Linked DNA regions of Homo sapiens: region 1 is linked to region 2. Evidence: promoter capture Hi-C in human tissues and cell types (Jung and others, 2019). All regions are on one chromosome and are shown on one strand. Each heading gives the region's core, a stretch centred on a gene start or on the middle of the fragment in contact. The rest is flanking DNA. Distances are from core to core; before and after follow the strand shown.

Region 1 (3,500 bases), core at 198-2,697, 1.4 Mb before region 2:
AACAAGCTGTCAGCAATGAAGCAAACAGAAACCCTTTCACTGGCACATCTGAGATGCCCACGGAGTCTGCGGACCCCCCGTATTCTGGCAAGCCTGACTGGAATACTGGTAAAATGTACACCTCATTCATCCCTCGGCAATTAACCTCCCCATCAGCAACGTGTTGGTTTTATTCCCAACACACATAGGCAAAAAACTTCAATCAACTCTTCCTAATATTTAAGATAATTTCATTAATCACCACGTAAGTTCACCACTTTACTTGGCAACCACAACTCATTCAAACGCCTGCAGACCAACTTAGGCTTAGATGAGCAGATCTCTTAGGTGGTGCTTAAAATCGTGTTACTACCACCGTGATCATGAACTAAATGAAATGTCCTGACAATGTAGGAAGAGCCTCAAATCTCAGGCTGTTTTAAGTGCCACTAGGAAAAGAAATCTCCCATTGGACGCGCCCTCACTCCCCGCCCCCCCCCTGCCCCGCCACTCCCGCCGAGGCGTCCTAAAAGCATTATGTCATCCACTGCCCCCACATCTCTCCAGCTCCAAACCCCGCCTCCTCTCGAAGTGTCCCGCGCCCCCAGCCCTCTTCCCTCTCAGACTAGAAGAGGGAAGTGGCACTGAGCAAATCTCGGCTCCTCCAAGTTCTCTTCACAACGCAGTTAAAAGAACCCCCGCCCTGGTTTCTCGCAAATAAAAAGAAACAAGTTCTCGCCCCAACTCTTCGCATCCTGCGAAGGGCGAGAGGGCTGAGGCCGTGACTCCCCTCGGTGAATTCAGGACAGGCCCCAACAAGGCTCTGCCTCCCCTCGCGAGAGGACAAGGGAAGACCCAAGTGAGGGAGCGGGGCTGAAGTGGGGGAAGGCCTCGCCCCAGGAGGGGGCGGGTGTCCCTCATGGGCTCTGGGTTGCTGGGTCACTCTGTCTCTGCGGGGCCGGGGGTTCGTGTCGCCGGCCCGCAGGCTGCAGGGTTACCGCCATCCCCGCCGTAGCCTGGGACCCGCCGGGACAGGGAGCTGCAGCGGGCCCAAACTCACGGTCGGTGCAGCGGCTCCTCAGCCACAGCCGGGCCGGGTGGCGGCGGGGGCGGCGGCGGGGGCGGCTGCGGCTGAGGCAGCAGCGGCTGTGCCTGCGGCGGCGGCTGAGGAAGCTGAGGAGGCGGCGGCGGCGGCGGCGGCGGTGGCGGCTGTTGCTGCTGCTGCTGCTGCTGCTGCTGCTGCTGCTGCTGCTGCTGCTGCTGCTGCTGCTGGAAGGACTTGAGGGACTCGAAGGCCTTCATCAGCTTTTCCAGGGTCGCCATGGCGGTCTCCCGCCCGGCACGGCAGTCCCCGGAGGCCTCGGGCCGACTCGCGGCGCCGCTCAGCACCGGGGCAATGAATGGGGCTCTGGGCCGCAGGTAAAAGCAGAACCTGAGCGGCCGTCCATCTTGGACCCGTCCCGGCAGCCCCCACGGCGCCTTGCGTCCCAGACGCTGCGCCGGCGGAGGCGGGGCCGCGCCGGCGGAGGCGGGGCCACGCCGGCCAGCATGATTGACAGCCCTAGCCTGCGGACTCTGCCAATGGCTGGCCAGGGAACCAGCCCGCCCCTGCCCCCGCAGGTTCTGCCTCACACAGCAAGGCCGCTGACAGCGCAGCGCCCCACCCGGGCGAAGGCGCGGGGCTCAACGGAGAGGGGACGGGGCGTGGTGAGACTGTAATGGGGTGAGGCGAAGCTGTGTGTGAAGTGTCGCGGCGAGGCGGGACGAGGAAGGGACGGGGCGGGACTGCATGGTAAGGGAGGCGTGGCGATGCGGGGGGCGTGGCGATGCGGGGGGCGTGGTGAGGTAGGGGCGTGGCGAGGCCGGGGCGGGGCACAGCAGGGAGGCCGCCTGAGGGGCGGGGCGAGACGGGGGCGGGGCGGGGCGATGCTGGGGACGGGGACATTAGGCAGGCCGGCTGAGGGGCGGGGCGGCTGAGGGGCGGAGCGGGATAGGGGAGGGGACTGGCCGGTGAGGGGTGGGGAGGCTGGGGGCGGGGCAGGAAGGTGAGAGGTGGGGCGAGGGAGGGGTGGGGCGCGGAGGGGCAGGGCCATGGAGGGGCTCGCCCATGAAGGACGGGGCCATGGACGGGGCGGGGCCGTGGAGGGGGCGCCGAGCGCGGGCGCAGGCCCATGCGGAAAGGATCCCCCGCCGACGCCTGGAGCGGGGCGACAGCCGGCCGTGGACTCTGAGCCGAGGTGGCCTTGGGGTTTGCCCTCCCGCCACACTGGCCCGTGGCCAGAGCCATACTCACCCGGACAGCCCTGCGGGGAGCCAGCTGCGGGGCTCTCTGCACGGGGAGAGGGTGGGCGAGCTCCTGCGCAGAGCGCAGAGAATGCGCGTGGTCGGCACGACCTGAGGACCCCAAGTGTGACCCCCACCCCACCCCCAGTGAGCTGGAGAGGCCCCTGCAGGGCGGTGTCCACAGGCCTGGCGCCCCCCATCGGTCCCAGCGCAGCGCCCCGGAAGGGAGGAGAGGGTCTGGGGCAGGCCTGGGTGGTCAGCGCCTGCTGCCCACAGAGGCACTGTGATTAGTGCAGCGAGAAGCAGCTATGGCCACAAGATGCCGCCCACAGGAATGAGTCCCGACCTGGGGGCGTTTCTTTATGGGAGTGCACCCCTGCTCTGACCTTCCGGCAGGACCCCCAAGGGGCGTCATTCAGCAGCAGCTCAGCAGAGGTCTGTGGGGCACCCCCTCACGCCTGGGACACAGGCCGTGGCGGGCAGGGTCCTGGTCTCCAGAGCCTCCTGCCTTTTGGGTGGTAGAGGGGCAAACGGAGAGGGCAGCTGTCCAGCCTGCCCAGCAGGGAGTAAGGTTGGCCTCAGAGACAACCGCCCAGCCGGGGGGTGATGCAGGCAGAGAGGAGCCCAGTAAAGCCTACTTTAGCCAGGCCACACCTGCAACCCAGAGTCCCCTGCTCTGTGGCCACAAACAGCACCTCCGCCTTGTCTCAGAGCCTGTCCTAAAGGGAAACCCAGCATTGTCCCCAGTGGGGTAGCAGTAGCCTCCCTTTTCTTGAGAAGGACAGCAGAGAAACAGCTGTTAGTTCCCAGTTCTTGGGAGGCTGATGTGGGAGGATCACCTGAACCCAGGAATTTGAGGCTGCAAGTGAGCTAGGATTGCACCACTGCACTCCAGCTTGGGTGATAGAGCGACACTGTCTCTAAAAAAATTAAGTTCCAGCGAGGTGCGGTGGCTCACGCCTGTAATCCCAGCACTTTGGGAGGCCAAGGCAGGCAGATCACCAGAGGTCAGGAGTTCGAGACCAGCCTGGCCAACATGGCGAAACCCTGTCTCTACTAAAAATACAAAAATTAGCCGGGTGTAGTGGTGCATGCCTGTAGTCCCAGCTATTCCGGAGGCTGAGGCAGAATTGCTTGAACCTGGGAGGTGGAGGTTGCAGTGAGCCAAGATCATGCCATTGCACTCCAGCCTGGGTGACAAGAGTGAGACTCTGTCTCAAAAATAAATAAATAAATAA
Region 2 (3,417 bases), core at 623-3,122:
AAGCAATCCTTTTGGAGGCTTCAGCCTCCCAAAGTGTTGGGATCACAGGCATGAGCCATCATCTCGGCCACTGCACTGTTCCAATATTGCTTAGCTCAAGGCCAGTGCTTATTGAGCTACTAAGAGGAAAAGAAAAGCAGTGTGGCAGTAGGAATATAGTTTAAATGTAGGGTGTGTGACTTAACCCTTGCCTGGCATGACCTTAGGTCCTATTCATAATTTGGTATCTTATTGCCACTGGTGTCCCCTTGACCGCAAGGGGGTCCATTCAGTTGTTGGGGGCTTAGGATTTTAATTTTTTTTGAGACAGAGTTCTGCTCTTGTTGCCCAGGTTGGAGTACAGTGGTGCAATCTTAGCCCACTGCCTCCCGGGTTCAAACAATTCTCCTGCCTCAGCCACCCGAGTAGCTGGGATTACAAGCATGCGTCACCATGCCAGGCTAATTTTGTATTTTTAGTAGAGACAGGGTTTCTCCATGTTGGTCAGGCTAGTCTCGAACTCCCAACCTCAGATGATCCTCCCGCCTCGGCCTCCCAAAGTGTTGGAATTACAGGCATGAGCCACCGCGCCCTGCCAGGATTTTATTTTTAGTTTACAGTGTTGAGGGTTATGGGATGCCCAGGGCCTGGGGAGGAAGGGGACAGGATGTGTCCGTCCTAGTCTGAGGATGACTTTTTTGAGTTCAAAAGGGGGCGGTGGACGCACCAAGGCACAGTCCTGAGGGCAGCAGGTGCAAAAGTCCGGCCCTCCCAGAGGTGTAAGGCCTTAGAGGGATCCCAAGCATCCCTGGGGCTCAGCCTCCTGGACCTGACCCCACTGCCCACTCTTTTGGCTGGTTCCACTCTCCCCTGCATCCCTCACGTTGTCCCCAACAGGAAGCTGTGGGAACCTGTTCTCAGGTGTAGTGCACCCGTTGGGGTTCTAGTTGGCTGGATCCGCGGGGCCGTCAGCTGCAACTGTGACGGCGGGGAAGCGGGACGGGATGGTGCGGATCTACAGGACCTCGCCTCCAGGTGGAACCTACCTGCTGAGCCAGGGATTCTTCAGGATACAAACCCAGTCAACTCCAGGCAGAGGGTGGGAGCGTCATGCACCGGCGACACAGTGGAGGACGTCATGGACGGGCAGGGAGGCAGCGGCAACCGAAACTAGCGGCTCAGTCGGTGGCCGGTGTGCGGTCAACGGCCAGGGCAGTGGGACCGGAAAGACTCAGTGTAGTTGTCAACTGTTGCGACCTAAAAGGTTACTCCAAAACTTTAAGCGGCTCAAAACAATAGACGGCGCGTACGGGGCCTGCAGCGGCCACGGGACCGTGGGAAGCAGTCAGTACCCGCCACAGGCCGCGCCTTCCGGGTTCCGGGTTCCGGGTTCCCGCCAGGGAGGAGACACGCCCCCACCTGGGCAGGAACCAAGCAGAGCCGCGCTCCACCCAGGCCGGAACCAATGGGAGATGCGCCACGACCCAGGCCGAGAAACGTGCCGCTTACCCTTCCCCCACGACCTGCGCCGCGTCGCGCGCGGCCGAATCTCCCGCCAAAGCTGCCCCCGCCCGCCAAGGCGCGACCTATCAGCGTCGCAGAGGCCCGCGGCGGCCCGGCCGCCTCAATCCCGCGGGTGGGGGCAACCTTTTCCTCAGGCCTCTCCTCAGCCCACGGCGTCCATCTGGCTCCCGAGCCGAGGGCCGGGCAGTCGGGCTTCGCGGCTGCCCGCGGTCCCGAGGCCTCGCCCTAGCCCCAGTCGGCTCGCGAGGCGCGCACAGCTGAGTGGACCCCTGCGGCGTGGCCCGATGGTCTCGCCCGACCCGGCGCGCGCGGGAGGCCGAGGGGCGGGGCCCGGCGCCCACATAAAGGCGGTTGGGGGCGGGGCGCGCAGAGCTCGTGAGCGCCGGCGCGGGGACGCGGGTTTCTGCCTCAGGCCCTGCCCTGCTCTACTCTGCGCTCTCTGCCCGCGCCGCCGCCGCCTCAGCCTCGGCCCTGCGCTGCGCGCCCGGCCCGTGCTGCCATGGCCTGCCGCCCGCGAAGCCCGCCGAGGCATCAGAGCCGCTGCGACGGTGACGCCAGGTGAGGCCGGGCTGCGCGGCGGGCGAGGGAGCGCGTGCCCCGTGGGGCGGGGGTTGTGCGGGGCCGGGGTGTGGGAGGGCGGAGGTTGTAAGGCGGTCCCGAACCTCCCGTGCCCAGCCGACCGCGTCCCTCCCCGCAGCCCGCCGTCCCCCGCGCGATGGAGCCTGGGACGGAAGCGCAGAGCCGACGGCAGGCGCTGGAGGCCCGAAGACGCCGAGGAGGCAGAGCACCGCGGCGCCGAGCGCAGACCCGAGAGGTGGGCGCGGGACCCGGGGGTCGGGGCGCGGTGGGGCCCTTGACGAGGCCGCGGGCTCCAGGGACCTCGTCGCGCTCTCGCGGTGCCGGGATCGGTCAGGTCGGCACCCTGCGTCCTTTTATCTTGGTCTCCGCGCGGCCCGTGGACTGGGGCGGCCGCAGCAGGCCTGGGAGGCGCTGGAACACTCCGGAAGCCTCTTGCCAGGATGGGAGTCAGCTGAACCGGCGTCAGCCCGAGTTAGCCAGTTCGAGTCTGTGTTGTGCTCCCGGGAGAGGTCAGGGTCTCTGACGAGCTTCTCGTGAACACGTGGAAGTCAGGGACACCCGAGTCCCGAGGAGAAGTGAGTTGACAGGGCTTACCTGCTTGGCCATTTTCTGGGTTAGGCAGTGTGCAGGGAGGGTGGAGATGCGAGCGAAAGGAGGGCTTGATGGGGTGGGACGGCCGAGGAGGGTCTGGAGGAAATAAGCAGGGGTGCCAGTGGTCGTAGTGGCGGGGCTTTTCGGGGCTGTGGTTAGAGAAAACTTCTCGAGGGGCTTTGGGGTGGCTCGTCCCGCACTGGGGGCTTGTTGCTCCTGAGTTCCCTGAAAGGCGTGGTGACTTGGCCGAGATGGAGCAGTGAAGGTGGAGGGAAATGCGTGGTTCGGGATAGGCTTCTGAAGGCAGGACCTGTGAGACTTGCTGATGGGTTGGGGATGGGAGGCGTGAAAGGAAAAAAAAAAATCGGACCCAACTTCACTGTGCCAAAAGGAAAAAATTATGCTGAGCGCGGAATCATGCAAGAAACTACCTTTGCGTTACTTTTTTTTTTTTTTTTTTTTTTTTAAAGACAGGGTCTCACTCTGTCTCACAGGCTGGAGTGCGGTGACGCGATCTTGGCTCACTGCAGCCTCCCCCTCCCGGGTTCAAGTGATTCTCCTGCCTCAGCCTCCCCAGCAGCTAGGATTACAGGCGCATGCCACCGCGCCCGGCTAACTTTTTGTATTTGTAGTAGAGACAGGGTTTCACCATGTTGACCAGACTGGTGTCGAACTCCTGACCTCAAGTGATCCACCCACCTTGGCCACCCAAAGTGCTGGGATTACAGGTGTGAGCCACCGCGC

Evidence for each region. The method cuts DNA at HindIII sites, captures the fragments that hold promoters and counts their contacts. A contact is called where the count stands out against the background at its distance.
Region 1: the fragment with the promoter of HTT here is called in contact with the fragment with the promoter of SLBP in region 2 in 1 of the 25 tissues and cell types used here (lymphoblastoid cells).

The regions. Positions count from the first base shown.
Region 1 is chr4:3,072,628-3,076,127 of GRCh38, reverse strand. HTT (huntingtin) reads right to left here and starts at 1,447. Exons shown (of 67, transcript NM_001388492.1): 1 at 1,040-1,447. The coding sequence starts at 1,302. It also overlaps HTT-AS. RefSeq lists enhancers at 552-601, 612-841 and silencers at 1,002-1,071, 1,182-1,621, 1,772-2,391. The HindIII fragment of the contact is 13,196 bases long and covers 1-3,500 here.
Region 2 is chr4:1,710,774-1,714,190 of GRCh38, reverse strand. It overlaps SLBP (stem-loop histone mRNA binding protein), which reads left to right and starts at 1,872. Exons shown (of 8, transcript NM_006527.4): 1 at 1,872-2,061; 2 at 2,201-2,317. The coding sequence starts at 2,003. RefSeq lists an enhancer at 1,036-1,325 and silencers at 1,456-2,365, 2,376-2,495. The HindIII fragment of the contact is 8,102 bases long and covers 644-3,417 here.